Linked DNA regions of Homo sapiens: all the other regions are linked to region 2. The links are contacts of gene promoters, found by promoter capture Hi-C in blood cells and fetal thymus (Javierre and others, 2016). All regions are on one chromosome and are shown on one strand. The core of a region is centred on a gene start or on the middle of the fragment in contact, and the rest is flanking DNA. Distances in the headings are between cores, read along the strand shown.

Evidence for each region. The method cuts DNA at HindIII sites, captures the fragments that hold promoters and counts their contacts. A CHiCAGO score of 5 or more calls a contact.
Region 1: a contact is called between a fragment that was not itself captured here and the fragment with the promoter of GSG1 in region 2, in 1 of 17 cell types (M2 macrophages). The highest score is 5.2, in M2 macrophages.
Region 3: a contact is called between a fragment that was not itself captured here and the fragment with the promoter of GSG1 in region 2, in 2 of 17 cell types (M1 macrophages and M0 macrophages). The highest score is 5.5, in M1 macrophages.
Region 4: a fragment that was not itself captured here is called in contact with the fragment with the promoter of GSG1 in region 2 in 1 of 17 cell types (M1 macrophages); the score reaches 6.3 in M1 macrophages.

Annotation. Positions count from the first base shown.
Region 1 is chr12:14,972,997-14,977,734 of GRCh38, forward strand. It overlaps PDE6H (phosphodiesterase 6H), which reads left to right and starts at 46. Exons shown (of 4, transcript NM_006205.3): 1 at 46-90. The HindIII fragment of the contact is 2,739 bases long and covers 1,686-4,424 here.
Region 2 is chr12:13,100,604-13,105,331 of GRCh38, forward strand. GSG1 (germ cell associated 1) reads right to left here and starts at 3,064. Exons shown (of 7, transcript NM_001080555.4): 1 at 2,862-3,064. The coding sequence starts at 2,909. LOC105369666 (a long non-coding RNA gene) reads left to right here and starts at 827. Exons shown (of 2, transcript XR_931369.3): 1 at 827-1,137; 2 at 1,384-1,843. RefSeq lists silencers at 443-672, 953-1,002. The HindIII fragment of the contact is 5,406 bases long and covers 2,122-4,728 here.
Region 3 is chr12:14,383,288-14,387,403 of GRCh38, forward strand. The region is part of intron 1 of ATF7IP (activating transcription factor 7 interacting protein); the gene reads left to right. Among named protein-coding and RNA genes, the nearest start is that of ATF7IP, 20 kb to the left of the region's middle. The HindIII fragment of the contact is 1,191 bases long and covers 1,356-2,546 here.
Region 4 is chr12:14,956,876-14,961,178 of GRCh38, forward strand. All of the region lies in intron 1 of ARHGDIB (Rho GDP dissociation inhibitor beta), which reads right to left. Among named protein-coding and RNA genes, the nearest start is that of ARHGDIB, 2.6 kb to the right of the region's middle. RefSeq lists an enhancer at 3,069-3,178. The HindIII fragment of the contact is 2,551 bases long and covers 491-3,041 here.

The DNA of each region.
Region 1 (4,738 bases), core at 1,805-4,304, 1.9 Mb after region 2:
TATTACAGAGAGATAAGTCAGGATGCAAAGATCCTTTTGTCTTTTGCAAAGAAGGCAGCTGGGCAGCTGATAGGAACAACATTCAGCTCCGTGAGTACTTCTGAACTTCTGGTGAATTTGAGCAGGATAATTGAAGGGCTTTGGGGGGTTGATCAGGTTCCAAAAGAAAAATTGCAGAAGAAAACATGTTGGACCTGTGGGCCTGGGCTGTGGCTGGGGATGAAAATGGGAAAGAACATGAAGGAGATACATGCAGACCTTCTTGTTATGCCATGGGACAAGCAAATAAGTGAAACTTGATTATTACAAGGTCACTGCAAAACTTGATTACTGAATTCATTTAGAAGGAGCCCAATAGTGACCTCCCTGTTTGCAGCTTCATAGTAAACAGTTTTCTGAAGAAGGAGGAATCTGTGGCACTAAATAACCACAGAGAAAACAGTTCTTTACTCCCAGGATGTGCCTGCAAACTTGGCCCAGGATGGTGTGAGTGTGAGGAAAAGGAGAAGGGGAGCTGAGAGCATGAGAATGACCACAGGGCAGGGCAGGTGGCTGAGCCTTCTCCCTTTGAGGTCAAGTGTTTGTTCCATTCTGAAGCAGGGTGCTGGCTGGAATTTTGGTAATTTTTTTTTTATGGCTTTGGTTTGGGTCTTGCTTTGCTTTTCAAATTATTGATTTTCTCTGCCTCAGCAGGACCCTGGGTGATATTTATGGGCTCAACCCCAGCAGTACTTCCCTTCCCAGCTCCTTCCTGCCTCTTTCTTTGTCCACCAACAATGGACTGGTCTACCTGTCTATAGCTTTGCTGAGAAAAAGAGAACTGGAAGTGTAAGGTGATAACAGCAGCATCAGAGAGCTGTCTCAGGAACCTCCTAAAACTGCTTTTCAGAGGATCATCCTCTGTCACTATATAGAGCTGGGCTTTGCTGTATAAAGAAACAGAAGATGATTTTTTGCTTTATACAAATCTTTAACTTTGTTAAGTTGACCCTAATCCCAGTCCCCTAAAAAAGTATGCCTTGAAATATTACTTTGCTGCATCCACTTATTTCTGCAGAAAAACAGTTTGTAATCTTCAAAAGGGGAAGGGCTAACATTGCTTTAAATACAGGAAAATGTTCTGGCTCACAAAAGAATAAATTGCCTAATGCTTTTGGAGGAAAAAATATGAAACTTCTTTCAGCTAAAATCAAGTCTGATAATACATTTAAGGTTACTCAGCTCCAGATGCCCTTAGAATTTCTAGAAAGGTGTGGTCAGCATGAGGTTAGCCTTTGGTGATGTTTATGGACAACAGGACTGGCTTCCAATGCAGGAAAAGGTCAGAGGTGTTCTACCCTTCCTAAAGGTTTTGCAGAGAGAATTGGAGGGTAAATCTATGACAGAAACTGCATAGGGATTAGTCGACTGTTCCGGTTACCTAGTGCAAATCCTGAGCACCATTAGGATCAAGGGATTAACCTGGCAACTGTTATGTAACTCTTTCTGAGGAGGCTTCTTTCATATAATGCATCATACTCAGACATGAACACTTTCTAAGCCTAGAGGTGTAACTTCAAAATTATGTAAAAATGCAAAAGAAACTTGCAAGAAAAAAGGGGATGTATCATTGGGGAATATGGATGTCACGTGTGATTTTTAAATTCTTCGGGGTTGCTGTTGGGGTGTCAAAGGAATTCAAGGAAAGCTTCTTAAGACAGAATTTTAAGACCAGAAATAAGTTAACAGTCGGGGTGTTTGAAGGAAGCAGAGAATTACCCAGCGAGGGCAGATGATAATTGCCCCTCTGGTGTATGGCAAGGGCCCTTCAGCAGTTGGCCCAGAGGAAGGAGGTGCAGAGTCCAGGTGAACAAGTGTCATAACCACAGATTTGTTTGCATGGCTTTCTTTTCTCTCAGAAGGTCTAGCATATATTTGCCCTTTTTGAACACTTTGTACCACTCTACTTATATTGTCTTCCTAAAATTTCCCCATAACTCTAAAAGGAAGGTCTTGTTTGATTCATTTTATAGATGGAATAAGACCCACAGAGGATTATGAAATTTATCCTAAGTCACGTAGCCAGTTCTGTGGAGTAGGAACTTAAAACTATATCAGTTTGATTCTAAAGAGTGTACTCTCTACCGTGTTACCATCAAAGGACAATTTGACAAATGAGGGTCACTTTAGGCCCTTACATTATAGAACTCTGGATCCAACTCAATTGGATCTTATTAGGGCTGCCAGATAAAAATGAAGGATGCCAGTTCAATTTGAATTCCAGAAAAAAAATGACTTTTTAAAGTATAAATATGTACCATGAAACAGCTGAGATATACTTTACTAAAAAAAATTATTTCTTTGTAATTCAAATTGAACTGGGTGTCTTGTAATTTTTTTTTTTTTGGCTTAATCTGGCAATTCTAACCCTAATAGATTCTTTAGATGAGAGAAAAGAAACTTTTTGATTTCTTCTACCTTGAAAATCCTGGGCAGTTCAAAAACCTTGATCTGAGAGCAATTCTCTAGCTGCCCTCTGTGACTCTGGCAGGGCTGGGATGTGTCAGTTACTGGTGGTCCACTCTGAGCACAGCGCAGATCTTGGCTGCTCACCAGCTATTCCCAGGGTCCCAACCACACTTGGGACAGACACAAGGTTTGCCTGTCTACCGGGGGTAGAGAGGGCCCACAGAACGGGAACTGAATTTAGTGAGCAGAGGAACTGGCAGTGCATTTCCTAAAGCCTGAAAGCTAATGACTTCTCTGTGCTCTGATGGAGAAGTCAAAGGGTCAGGATCTCATGACCAAGGTTTACAGTATTTGTTCAATTTCTTTTGTTTTTTTTTTTTGTTTTTTTTTTTTGGAGACGGGGTCTTGCCCTGTCGCCCAGGCTGGAGTGCAGTGGCACAATCTCAGCTCACTGCAAACTCCACCTCCTGGGTTCACACCATTCTCCTGCCTCAGCCTCCCAAGTAGCTGGGACTACAGGTGCCCGCCACCACACCTGGCTAATCTTTTGTATTTTTAGTAGAGATGGGGTTTCACCGTGTTAGCCAGGATGGTCTTGATCTCCTGACCTCGTGATCCGCCCGCCTCGGCCTCCCAAAGTGCTGGGATTACAGGCGTGAGCCACCGTGCCTGGCCTGTTCAATTTCTAAATTAATTTATTAACTCATTTGACAAATATAATATATATGGCATGATTACTGTACACCATGCACTGTTGTAGGTTCTGAGACTGGAAGGACAGCCTCATGAAGCTAGTCCAGTAGGGGATAAAGGAAGGAATCACAGCATGAGCAGGTGGTCCAGGGTCCTGGCCAATCTCACCATCCCTGGTACTGGCAAGGGTAATAATTTAGTAATAATCAGAATTTAAATAAGAGAAAAATCTTGGAGGCGAGGATAATAATTGCAACCCAATTGTCAAGGAAATAAGAAAACAGTATGGACTGGAAGTTATAGAATATGAGGTTTCAGGAATATGCAGTGTGGCCAGTAAAGAGAGTCATTGTTAGCACGAGCCAAAGACTGTCAGGGAGGTTTGCAGTTAACAGTATTAGCATAGGCTGGTGTGATGGGTCATGCCTGTAAACCTAGCACTTCGGGAGGCTGAGGCGGGAGGGTCACTTGAGCCCAGGAGTTTGAGGCTGTAGTGAGCTATGATTGCAATTGCACCACTGCACTACAGCCTGGCTGATGGAGCAAGAACTTGTCTCTCTTAAAAAAAAAGAAAAAAGAATATTAGCATAAATCTGCAATGGGTGAAATAAGGAATCTTATGGAGACAAAGCCCCCACACACTAGTTTTTATAGAGGAGACTGTCTCAGGGTAAGAGGCAAAAGCAATTTGGAGTTCTCTGGGGCTTTTCAGGATCTTCCTTCCAAGAGCAAGTTTTGTTAACTCTTACGAAAGAAAGGAAGAAAGAAAATAACGTCATCCAAAATGACACATTAATTGCTTAAATTTATCTTTTTCAATAATTTTCTTTGATTTGTATTTGAAGAATGGCAATGTGCATTTCTGTAGCCAAATTAAAGTCTGAGAACACCATATTGGATAGGTCCGTGGTGTGGATAGAAGAAGGCATTGAAGATTTGTGAAAAGTGGGGGCTGAAGAACCTTATGTCTCGACGTAGAGTTGAAGCACAAACGTATTACTTAATTATCCTTCATTAACTTCTGTATGTGCGTGTGTATTAAGATGTGTTGAATATATTCATGGGTGTTGGTATTCCTGCTTCAGAGGTCCTCCTGTCCAGACAACTACACTGTCATCTCCCAGAACTAAGAGAGAAGTTTCTGGTTCATGTGAGGATTAAACAAAATAATCCTATCTTAAACTATAAGGACATGAAGGACTATAAAAAAACAGAGGCCATAAAAAATGCTCAATAAACATTTAGAGTCAGGTTATTTTACAGCTGGATGGAAGAATATGTAAAGCTTAAAGAAATTGCAGATGCTGTAAAAGACTATAGATATCACTGAGTCCATTTTCCTCTCTTCGTAACTGACAGAACTGGTAGTCACAGAGAAGTACAGCATCATAATAAATTCACGTAGAATGCTTGTGGCAAATCTATTTTATTTATTTATTTTTAAATTTTAATTTGTTATACCTAATGTGAAGCTTTAATTTAATTTATTTATTTAAAAATTGTTTTCAGTGGCAGATCCATGGGAACAGCATAGCTACCTAGATTTCTGAGTTTTAAAATCTATCAATTGTCCGTTTACACAACTGATAGATTGTGT
Region 2 (4,728 bases), core at 1,814-4,313:
CTCCAAACTTCTGAGCTTTTGCTGCTCTAACTGCAATGTTTACATCAGTGCCTGACCTTATACTCTTTCACTGATGAGGACAAAGATGGTCTTCACACGGGACATTTTCACATTTGTTTCCCAGCCCGGAAGGGAAGAGTAATGCCACCAAAATGCCCGTGCTTAGTGTTCAAAATGACTACATCACTGTAGGGCACTTAGCTCCGGGATTTATTCTCAGCTGTAACCACGTTTAAGGGGCCACATCACCTCAAATGGTCGCACAATCAAATGACTCTAGTCTTCCTAACGTAGGTCCCGAGTTTTGGGAACACTTCAATTCAGTGGGAAGGACCCTGGAAAAGCGTATCGGGGCCTCGTTCTCGTCTTTCCCTTTCCGCCTTTTAATGGAATTGTTTGAGGACTTTTGCTAATGCAGTCATTTCCAGGAGAGGAAGCCGCCTTTCTTCCAGGCCCCAAGCAGCTGGAGTGAATCAGAGGGGCAGCCACATCTGCACATCCTGTGGGGCAATCGCTCACGCGCGGGTGACGGCGCCAGCAGGCCGGCTGGGGCCGGGGGCGCTTGGGGACCGCGGGGCGGGGCGGGGGCGTAACGGGTGGGGCCTCTCGGGGGTGCCTGGGCCGCGCCATCTCCACTTCCGAGCGCGCCCTCCCACCCTGATGAGTAACGCGCCGTCTCTCCCGTTTACTACGGCGCCCGGTCGCCTAGCAGCGGGGCGCGTTGCCGCGGCGACAGGCCGGCCGTGTTTGGCATTGTTTGCGAGGCCCCGCCCCGCGGCCGCCAACCACCCATGGCTTCCTGACCGGGTCGGGCGGGGGTACCCGGGCTGTTTCTTCCTCTGGGTCTTCCTCCGTCGGTTGAGAACGGTGTCCCGGGGGCCCTCCCAGAGAGCAGGGACTGCCAGGGCAGGCCAGGGACCCGGCGAGCCGCGGAGGGCGGGGCCACATGTGTCCCGGAGCTGGGCCGGGGCGCTAGGCCACCTGAGGCGCGTCCCCTCTGCCGCCTGGCGAGGCTGCGCGGGAGGGCGGAGAGACTGGGTAGTCGGAGGGATTCCTTACACCCAGGCCGGTGGGCCAGGGCTCGGGATGTGTCGAGCTGCTGGAGTCCAAAGTCAGGCATTTCCCTGCCTCTGCCCGGTAAAGCTATGGGTCCCAGGCTCCCGTTCTAAGGGAAGGGGATGTCTGCGTCTCATTGGGAAGACCCCAGGGCGGGACTTCACCACCCAGACCCCTCAGCAGATCCGAGTTCTATTTACGACCCAATGCACGACTGCACTGAGGATTTTGGCCAAGTTACTTAACCTCCCAGAGGGTTAAATTTACCCTCAGGGGTAAATGAGGGCAAAGAGTTGTCCTTCTTAGTTCTGTGAAAATCGAAAACAGGTAGAAGAAGAGTGCCTCTAAGCAGAAACGAAGGGGAAGTGCACCTGTGCTACCAGCAGACACCTTGCTAGACCCTTCAGACATCTTCCTTAATCCTCACAACCAGCCTGAAAGGGACGTGGCATCCCCATTCTACAAGTGAGGGTTCCGATTCGGAGGGTTTGACTTGCTCAAGGCCACAAAGCTAGTAAATGGTAAAGTCAACACTGGCAATCTTTGAGGACTGTTCGCCTGACTCATCACCAGGCTGCCACTCAGTAAAAGCCAAGGCACAGTCACCTTTAACAAAATGTACAGATTGCAGGCCAGATTTATGGGACCTCCTGCAGATTGAGGCAATGGATTAAGTGTACTTTATACTTCTCAGGTACATATTAGCAACCAGACGCTCCCATATTCCCTCTGTGTCTCTCCTGGAAAACCACTGATAAAGAACAATAATAAAATTTATTCTAAGCCATGACTGGCTTTTTCTGTCATGTTCACATCCACTTCTTTGTCATCTATTCACTTGGGGCTGCTTCTGAATTAGGGAAGCTGCCTGAACCCACACTCCGATGGCTCTTCAGAACCACCAGCTCAGCTCTGCAGTCCCAGAAGTGCCTCTTAAGTTATCCTGTTCTTTCCTTTGAGATCCTAACTTCCAGCTGGTCAACAACATACCACATTGCTCCCTGTGTTGGAGTGTATGTACGTGTGTGTGTGTTTGTGTATGTGCTAGTTTGCTGGCTAATTGCAAGCTTCATTTTTCTCTCCTGAGAAAGGCAAGATATCTGAGAATGAACACCATTTGTTTTTTTAAGTAATCCTTAGAGCTGAAAGTTGGGAGGCTGGTCGTTTCTGAATGTAGGTCAAATGCTAAACAAGCCGCAACTTCTCTGCAGAGTGTGAGAGTCTTCCTGGTCTGGAAGGATCCCTGAAGATTCTGCTGGATTCTCTGAGACGAGAAAGAGCTTGACTGTGTGTTGTCCTTCCCAGTTCCAGATCAGAGCTGCCTTCCAGCAGGACCTTGGGGATGCCCCACTGTTCTCTGGCATAGAGCTTGATGTCTGCTCTTTCAGCTCACTGGGGTGACACACAGCTCTATTGTTGCCACCGCTACTGGGCCTTTACCAGGCTCCAGATTTTGGCAACGGGAATAATGCAGATGAAAGGAAAAAAGGAGAGGCATAGGGAGCCCTGGGAACAGAAAGGAGAAGGAAGATGATGAGACAAGGGAAGAAGAAATGGAAGTTTTAATGAAGGAAGATGAAAAGGTAATAGGCCAAGGTATGGACATACCAGTTTTATCTATGAAAACTGGGCTGAGTGACACATTTTCATTCCATTTTGTAGAACCCTATAGTGCATTTCCAAGCTCTTTACTGTGACCATGTGAAATACATGAAATTGATGAGTTAGTGTAACCTGTGTTACAAATCCAGCAGTAAAGATATGTGTATGAGATGTTCATGAGATTTCAAAATCACTGTACCTACCTCCTGGGTGAGGCAAACATTTTGAGTCAGTTGAGAGGGATCGCTCATTCACTCTTGCAGCGGGAAGGCAGAGAAGTTTCAGTTTATCTTCTGTTCTGTCTCAATCAGTTGGGTAGAATGAGTGTTTAGCGTGAGGATGAATCAGGTCCCCTCTTGCCAGCAGAGGGGTAAGGTGGTGTGTGGTGGATTGGAGAGGATGTCCTGAGGGCCAGACACCAGCCAGGGCGGGGTTGGGTGACCCGTGGGGTTTATTCTGTGATGTCACAACGGCAGTCAGGGGTCTCCCTGTTGCTCCCTCAGCCTCCTCCCATAAGGATTGGGGGGGGTCATGCTGGGTACCTACCAGTGGCTGGATGTCTTCTGAGGTCGTCCAGATCAGTGCTTATCTTATTGTGCATAAGATTCACCTGGGGAACTTAGTCAAGTGCAGATCCTGACTTAGTCAAGTGCAGAGTCTGGGATGGCTCTCACGTGAGTCCAGCCAGACCACACTGAGTTGTGAGACTCTAGACCAGTGCTGTCAAAGCAAAATGCAATGTGGGCAGCATATGTCATTTAAAATTTTCTGGTAGCCACATTAAAAAAAGTAAATTGGACACACATACTGTGATACAGCAATCATATGTTATACAATACTATGTTTAAAATGTAGCCCTCCCCACACAATAAAGTTGGGTTTAATGAAAAATATTTTATACTACTTTCATTTTAAAATTAAAATTTAGTGAATTCAAATTACATAAAATTAGAAATTCAGTTGCTCAGTTGCACTATCCATATCATAAGGGCTCCACAGCCACACATGGCAAGTAGCTACTGTATTGGATGGCACAACTCAAGGCCATTCCCTGAAAAGGTAACAATGTACAGAAATTACCATTCTAAAGGGCTAGTATCTGGAAACCCAGCAAACATTCACTAACATCATTTTAATGAATACATAATTAGTGTTTGGGGACTGTTAATATGGAGGCATAACTCTCGGAGACTGGAAGAGGGCCTCATCCAGGATTCCAGCTAACAGTCTGGATGGGGCCCTCTGCCCTGTGAAACCTGTCACACTCAGTCCTCCTCTGAGCTTTTGCCAGGGTTCCCCTCACTGGGATCCCTTCCTTCTCCTTGCTGCCCTGCCTAAATCTTACACAACCTCAGGGCACATGATTCCAGTCTCACTACCTTGTGGCTCTAGCCCTCCTTACTCCCCATTTCCTCTTTGCTCATACAGCATGCCTGCTTTGCTTTTGGTGTGTTAGTCTGTTTCTCTCGTGAAATTCTAAGCTGCTTGAGGACAGAATCTGGTTTTTTACTTCTATCGTGCTTAATATAGTGCCAAGGGCATAGTAGCTGCTCAAGAAATATTTATTATTTTATTTAATGACCTAAACTACCTAAGGAAGTATCTAAGAGAGAACATCGGATCTCGAAGTGCCAATAACTTCCCCAATGGAACAACATGCCTTATTTTTGGCACATCTTAAATTGATCAAGATGTCCGTTATAAGTTAATTTATAAATTTAATACAAATAACCATGAGTATTTTAAAAGACCAACACAAGTTGATATTAAAGTTTATATGGGAAAAAAATACACAAGACTAGCTAGGAAAACCCTGAAAAGGAAGAGCTCTGAGGTGGTGCTAGCCCTAATTGATATAAAGCATACTACAAAGCCTCTATGATTAAAACAACATGGCACATGTATACATATGTAACAAACCCGCACGTTGTGCACATGTACGCTAGAACTTAAAGTATATTAAAAAAAACAAAAAAACCAAAAAAAAACAATGTGGTACTGGTGCATGACTAGACAAACAGGCCAATGGAAGAGAACAGAAAGTCTAGAGATAAACACAGCTATGTATAG
Region 3 (4,116 bases), core at 701-3,200, 1.3 Mb after region 2:
ATTGGAAAAGTATTTGGCAAGAGAAGGGAGGCTTGAAGAAGATATCATCCATTTGACAGTGTGTTCCATAATTTAAATCTTTGTGGATCAGACTTCCTAAAAACACTTTGCTTCCAGAATGTAAGAAAGTGTTCATTAGGCAGCTCTGAATATTTTGGCTATGTGTACCATCTTTCCCCACCCCCCAATTAAACATAGATTCCAGTGCTACAGTAATATCAATTCTGTTCCAGCCTTTCTCAATTTACCAAATCTTGCTTTTGTTTTTAATTATAATTTTTTTTGAGACAGGATCTGGCTCTGTTGACTAGGCTGGATGGAGTGCAGTGGTTCAAGTTCACTGTAGCCTTGAACTTCTGGGCTCAAGTGATCTTCCTGCATCAGCCTCTTGAGTAGCTGGAACTACAGGTTCATATTACCACACCTGCTAATGTTTTAAAAATTTTTTTTGTAGAGACAGACAGAGATCTCGCTTTGTTGGCCACGCAGGTCTCAAACTCCTGGCTTCAAGAGAGCCTTCCGCCTTGGCCTCCCAGAGTGTTGGGATTATAGGTGTGAAGCACTGTGCTTGGCCTAAATCTTGCTTTTAATGAATAGTCTTTGCTTGAGAATCACAGTTGTATTTTTAAAGAATTAATATGGCTTGGATCAAGTTTAACTTTTTTTTTCTGATATACTGAAGTTGTTACATACATTATTCATTTTGCCTCATGGAAAATACATAAGGACCTTTTAAAGATAAGTAATTTAAAAAACTTTTATTATGGAAAATTTCAAATATATACTGAAATAGAATGAGATAATAAATTCTGTGTGCCCATTGCTCAGCTTGAACCATTGTCAAGTCATAGGGCCAATCTCCTTTTAGCTATATCCCTATTACTCCCCTATACCCTTAAAACTTTTTAGTAAATACCTATATTTAGTGATAGATAGAACAAGATACACAGGTTAGCTAGATTTTAGGAAGGTAGACTGAGGAAGAGAGAAAGAAAATGTGGATTCTATTGCTGATGTGAACAGGTTCTCTCTGTGCTTTTGTCCTTCCCTTCTCTTTGATTGATATGTTTCTGCCAACCCACATTTGTTGGAGCTCTTTCAAATTTGTCTTGCTAATATATCTATTAGACTGAGTTTTACTCTTTTTTAAAATTCCCTTCTTTCCATCAGGGTGCCTATAATTCTTTGTTTTTATTTGCTTTTCACTCACATCAAAAAGTTGGGAGGTCTTTGTCAGGGCATGAAATGTAATTTGCCCTGGGACTAAACACTCACCTGGGGATGTTAATGTTTGTGACCATCTGTACTACTGAAGAGAAGAAATTATTTTTATATCTATGGTAAATTACTCAATAAGCTTTTTGCCATCTTCTAGAGATTCTGTTATCAAGGTTCAAAAATTTAATTGTAGGCTTTAACTGTTCTGCTAGATTTGAGCACTTTGGGGCTTTTAGATTCTGTGGAGAAAATCTTTAGCCTTCTATAAATTGAAATTAACTTAATCAATCAAGTCATTTTCAGGATTTAAACAATTTTCTAGAAATTATAAAATTGAAATTCTTTTCATGATAAAACTATAAAAGGTAAAAAAAAAAAAAAGGCCTTGAGCAAGGTTTAACTTTTTTTTTTTTTTTCTGGACTGAAATGGAGGCTTTCTTTCAAGCGAATTCCCTGATGTTTGCTCTGTGTGATTTGGCTCCATCTCTGTAACTGCTAATATGTGGCATGGATTTCAAGTTGTTTGGGATCTGGATGTGCCCAAAGTCTGTATTGCAAGACGGGATTCACAGGCATTATGTTACAAAACTGGCTTGCTGCCTTCTGTTTTCTTTTTCTGTGTCCTGTGTAGCTGCATTGTTTGTTGCAGTATATGCATTAGCTGTTGTCTATGTTCAGTTTCCTGCAGGCTGACAAAGTGGGAGGGGCTTTGTTTGTTACATAGCTGAGTTTTCACTGTGTGAGTTCTTGAGTGCACATTGCAGCCATCTTAATTACACTTTTGTGCAACTGAGACTGTGCAGCTGTCTCAAAATGGCTGCTAACCTAGTCTTTGTAGCTGCTTAGGCAGCAAGTATGTCAGTGAGGAGACTTGTCACATGCATCAGGACCAGAGGTAAGAACCAATTACTCTTTTATCTTAAACATTCTCATTTTTTTCTTTTTTAAAAAGGAATTTAACTGAGTTTACTTAGAGGGGTGAACTTAGAGCTTGGTTTTTAAAAAGTTGAAATGTTTGGTAGAACCTTTAAGCCTTTATTATGGAAACAGTACATAGCATGGTGGGGTCAAAGGTTAAATTCCTGTAATTTCTCACCATTTTATGTTCTGTCATTGCCAGAACATTTGATCACCATAGTAGTGCATTTCTGGCCCTAATTAATGTAATATTCCTTTTGTGTAGGCTATTTTAGTGTGTTTGGTATTTATTTGTAGAAATTAAAACAATATATTATCTGAATAGATTTTTTTTTTAAAGGATCCATAAGTAAGCCTTGTTTTGCACAAAGACTACAATTTTTCTACGGTTTTGTGAGGTATTGTGTGGAAGCTTTTTGGAAAGAAGGGTAATTATATAAATCATGAAAAAAAATTTTTAATACTGTCCAAAATCTTTTTTTTTGGCATTATGGGTTGCAGTTCTTTCTCATCATGCTGCCTCCTCCCAGTATCCAACTCTTTGACATTTTTAATGCTGCTTTGCTTCTTTGTTCAAATTACTTTTTGCTTAAGTTGGCATTCAGATTCAGATTTTGAATTTAGAAATAAATTCACATCTAGTCATGGATACCTCTTTTTAAAAAATATATCTAATGTATTCAAATACCATCAGAGCTGAAGTACTCAGTTAATTAAGTTATATTTTCATTTTAGTCTTAATTCAAACCTGTAGTATATTTAAAAGAAATATAGCTCAATGATTTTGTAAATTTAATTTCAAAAAGTTTAAAAAGCTTTCTTAACATCGTTCTGGAGTAGAAATGTTTATTGAGATACTGTAAGTCTGTGGTTACCCAGAAAGATGGGAGAATGAAATTCTTATTCACGTAGTATTTCAGATAGCAGAAAAGGCATACTTTAAGCAGCAATACTTAAATTGCAGTACCTGTTAAAATATTTTTTAGCTGGTATAATATACTCCTGGTTTTGTCCGTAGAGTATTAAGAATATATCCCTGACTTATATGACATAGAACAGTAAGTTCTAAACTTTCTGAGTAGAGCAGCTTTCTAAAAACAGAAACTTTTTGCATGTTAAACTCTTAGGGAGGATTCCAATATATAAAAGGGATACTTATGGTTTCTGCTTAATTCTGCAAGGCTTAAGAAACAAAAGGACACGTGATATTTTATTGTTATGTACTTATTTTATATTGTAAACTTATTCACATGTCATGTGTATTTAATAAAATGACAATAATTATGCTATTAAGATAAACAAAACTTGGAAACGAGATCGTACATGACAATTATAATCTTGTATTAGATCCAGATCTAGTTCACTTATTTGTAGAACCTTGGCCTCTTAAGGCACTGTGGAATTCAGTTTGAAAATTATTCTAGAATGTGTCTTCGTTATGTTGATTTTTGATGTTCATGAAGATGGAATATAAGATCTATATGTACATGACTTAACAGTTTAAAATTGTTGACTTGTCTCAGCCTTGTGTTTATATTTGTTATTTACATTTTTTTTAAACAAAATAATTGTTTTTCCTAATTAAATCAGTGTCCATTTATTTAGTGGCTTAAAATATATTCTGGGATCAGTATTTATCTCAGTTTCATCAACAGCTTTAGCATTTTTGTTTCACTTTAGTCACTACATTGTAAAATCTTTAGGACTGTCTTATATGACATAGTAGATTCTCATAATTTGAACACTAATTTATGTAAATCATTCAGTCATATGAACTGTACCTAAAAAAGAAAAAGAAAAACATTTCAATGTGTTTGAGGGATTCTATTCATCATTCCTTTCAGTAAGGTTATCCTTGGAGTGAGTATGACATAGAAAAGTGAATGTGCTGTGACCTTGATCACTCTTATTTTCATGCCTTTTAATAGTAATAACAGCTCATTTTCTTGGTGGCGAGAGTGGGAGGGGAGGAGACTCTAG
Region 4 (4,303 bases), core at 516-3,015, 1.9 Mb after region 2:
GCATGCATATGACATAGCACACATCAATGTTTTTGCTTGCAAATTCAGTGAAATTTCCAAGACTTTGAAAGTGAATTACACTTAAAAATTTACACCCATGTCAGGATAGAGCATCATCTGTTTCATTAATGCAGCTCTAAATGAACTGAGGACAAGAAAAGGTAGAACTCCTGAGTTTAGATTAAACAAATTACCTGGGTAATTCAGAGAAAGGTGACTTTCATGTCTCATAGAACATAGATTGAGTCAGATGGACCAGGGATTCAAAACCAGGCTCTGCATTATGACAGGACTCAATCAAGTTGCTAATTTCACTGAGCCTCAGTTTTATCACCACTAAAATGGGGATATTCTTTTTTACGGGGTTGAAAGATTGGAGAAAACACATGAAAAATTATAGGACTATACTGGTCAAGAATAGATGTTCCGTGAATATTTGTTCCCTTCCTCTTCTTCCTTCCCTGCCCCAGTGTGGTCTGCTTTGTTGCAAAGCTTCACTGAAGCTAGGTAACTGTTTCCACACCAAATACTTTCCCCTGGATGGGAGCTATGTCCCCACTCCTTCCTCCTTAAAAATAGATTTTTGTCTTTGAGGAGTATTAAAGAGATAAGAAGTTCTGGGGAATTGAAAGGATTGTTTAAAAACTGAATCAACCTTAAAATGAGACTATATTATATTTCTTTTAAAAACTTTCATGTAAACAATTTAATTTTAGGTTTTATTTATTGCTCCCTGTCTTCATTGAAGCCAGAGGTCACTCTGCGAATGATGAGAAATGTCAGTGAACACAGGCACAGCTAATGAAGAGAATTCCCTCTGGCTCTGGAGCAAAATACCACAGAGACTTAACTCACGGCCCAAAGCTGGATCTGCAAAATTGTGCTGGATTATGCATCTAGACACACAGGCCATGGATATTAATGTATTAGGTAGAAGAGATAGCGATGAGAGAGAGAGAAGGAAGAGGGGAAAGAGGGAGAGAGAAAGAGGAGAGAGAGAGGAGGGAGAAGGGAGAAAGAGAGAGAGGGAAGAGAGAGAGAAAAGTGGAAATACCAGAAGTAGGGGATTTCTATCAGAGAAGTTCCTATGTGAGCATCAGCATTCTCTGTAACTCCTGCTACCTCCACTTTCCCTGCTGACTAGGATATGTCTGACTTCCCCCAAATCGGGCTGTGGGTCTAGTGCAGGTCTGGAGAGTCAGGCCATCTCTAAAACACTGTTGACATTTCAGAGCTAGTCAAGGATTTGAATGTGCTGTGCTGCTTGCCTGGCAATTTGGTGTATTACGGGATTGCAAATTTGTCTCTCAGGACACCAGAAGCCTTCTTGGTTCGGGATTCCACCCTCTCCCCACCGCCCCTGTCCCTGGTGACATGGAGGAATCCATACTCCCCACTTTGCGGTGCTGCTTTCTACCACCTCAGCCCCATGAAGGACTACGAAAACTTCAAAACTGGATGAGAAAAACCAAAGACAAGATTATTTTGTAAGAGACAATAAATATTGTAATCAATCCAGAGAAGGGCACAAATTACTAGAAACGTAATTTCTTACCATTTGTCTTTGTGAGAGAAACAATTTATTATTTCTTGCCTGTGCATTTTTTAGTGTGTTTTTCTAACCCACATTCATATGCACAAAGAGAGAGAACTCAAAGAGATCCCGTGAGCTTTGCTGAGTGCCCAACGTGTGAAGTCATGCCACCAAGTACCTTCACAAATATTATTTTAAATAATTCTCAAAGAAAACTGTGCATTAAGGAAGCCATTGCCTTCAGTATCTCAATATATTCACAAAAGTTTTAAATTAGCATGAAAAGTTAGACAGAATTGAGAGAGAATTTTTTTTATGACCGTTTGTGCTAAGATTATTAGGCTCTTTAAGAAAGCCCAAGTGAATTTTTACCAGCGGTAAAATTCACTCTTTGGCTGTGGACACCAGAGAGTAACACAACACAGGATGATTCAGGATGTGCTTATTGCACAGATAAATGTTGCTGACGTTTCAGGGGCAACATGAGACTCATCTCTGGGTATGCCAGTGTAGCCTTGAATACAGGATCCCGGGCAGCAATAACACAAACCAGGAATAAGAACTCTCAAAATATGGAATTGGAGAAAATTTCTTCCATGTGATTCTTCCTAAAGAATGTGGGAGATCACCTGAGCCTCAGGAGGTCGAGGCTGCAGTGAGCTGCGTTCACGCCCCTGCACTTCAGCTCGGGTGACAGAGTGAGACTTGTCTCAAAAAAATAATAATAGGCCATGCATGGTGGCTCACGCCTTTAATCCCAGGACTTTGGGAGGCCAAGGCAGGCGGATTGCTTGAGCCCAGGAATTCAAGACCAGCCCTGGCAACATGGAGAAACCCCGTCTCTACTAAAAATGGTAAAATTAGCCAGCGTGGTGATGCGCGCCTATAGTCCCAGCTACTCGGGAGGTTGAGGCGGGAGGATCACGTGAGCCTCCTGAGTAGGTAGGACCACAGGCACGCACCACCATGCCCTGTGAATTGCAATTCAGAGGCATTGTGGCTATTGATCCTTTTTGTATCAGTATGTAATTTTAGTCAAATTATTGAACACTTCTGCATTCTTCTCAGGAACAAAATTTGAAAGTTTTTATCACCAGGCCTGACACATAGAAGGCACTCAATGAATGTTGGTTCTCCTTTTCTATCTGCATAATTTCGACTCCCCAGGGCTTCTCTTTTCCTGCTAGCTGATGTTTGTCATGTACTGTGCTCTCCCAAATCAGCTCAGACCCGTATCTTTCCCTCAGAATGACTTTGTGGTGCTGAGTGTCTACTGAAAACAGAACCTTAATGTTGCTCAGAGCTAACTTCCCTAGGGGACAAACTCATGCTCTCCAAAGCAAGGAAGGACCAAATTCCAGTCGAGGCCTGAAAAATGCTTGCCAGTTTCTGTTCAGTGACAGCATAGTTAGTCCTCAGGTTTTGCATCTGTGAAGCATGGATGGAGAAAGAACTGTCTCTTAGAATTTCACACATCTCACAAAAGAGTAAGATGCTCTTGTTACTAAGCTTGTGCTATATCTGCTTTGGGAGGGAATATATTCTTACAAATTAAAAAAACACAAAGCCAATGGCAAGATTCACGATGCCTGCTAGGGACTGGACCTCTGCCCCCTGTCTCTCCGGACCAACAGGTGCCATGGTCCTCTTGATCTCCTGTGCCTGACCATCCCTGCAGTGAAGATGGCCAGGCCAACCCTGACTCCAGGGGCTCTAGGTCTCCATGTGAAGTGGTGACCATGAGCCCTCCGGGTGAGAGCAGTCTGCCTTTCCCCACTCTGAATGAAGAACTGCCCAGGGCTTGCCAGACACACACCTCAAGTTACCATAGGTCTAGAGTTTAATTACAGATTATGTTTATGAAACATGCTGGCTGGGAAGTCCTCTAAAAGGGAAGAAAGTATTTCAGGTCATACCTAAAGCACTTCTCCTAATGGTGGCTGAAATTCAGACCTTGACATTTTGAAGGCCCACTGATCAGCTGTCCTAGCTGGGCCCCCTTGAATTTTTCTCAAACCTGTCTCTTAATACGTTATTTGGTGTTTTCCATGTTTGCTGTTAGTTATCTCATACCTAAAGGGCTATTATCATTATTAATATTTTTATTTTTTGAGCCAGAGTTTCGCTCTTGTTGCCCATGCTGGAGTGCAATGGCGTGATCTTGGCTCACTGCAACCCCTGCCTCCTGGGTTCAAGTGATTCTCCTGCCTCAGCCTCCCAAATAACTGGGATTACAGGGATGCACCACCACACCCAGCTAATTTTGTATTTTCAGTAGAGATGGGGTTTCACCATGTTGGTCAAGCCGGTCTTGAACTCCTGACCTCAGGTGATCTACCCGCCTCGGCCTCCCAAAGTGCTGGGATTGCAGGCGTGAGCCACCACGCCCAGCCCTATTATTATTTTTGACAACAACAGCAAAGATCTGCCCATCCGACTGCAGGAATTTAATACACAGCCTTTGTCAGTGGTAGAAATTCTATCACTGTATGACTCATGAGTACATAACAATGTGCTATACCATACTTCCTCTTTGAGGGATAAAGCCCCTGCACTCTAAGGGAGGATTTCATTATGCATTTCTCTTATATCACCAGAAAATTATTTAGTGGAAGACAGTTTAATATTTGACAGCTTTGAACCATTTTTTTTTCTCTTTCAACCAGTCTTTTTACATTGTCTGCTTAAAAACAGGAAACCACATATCTCCACCCCAGCACAACCCACCATCCACCAGCACAGACCGTATCATTTTGGATCTACAGTCTT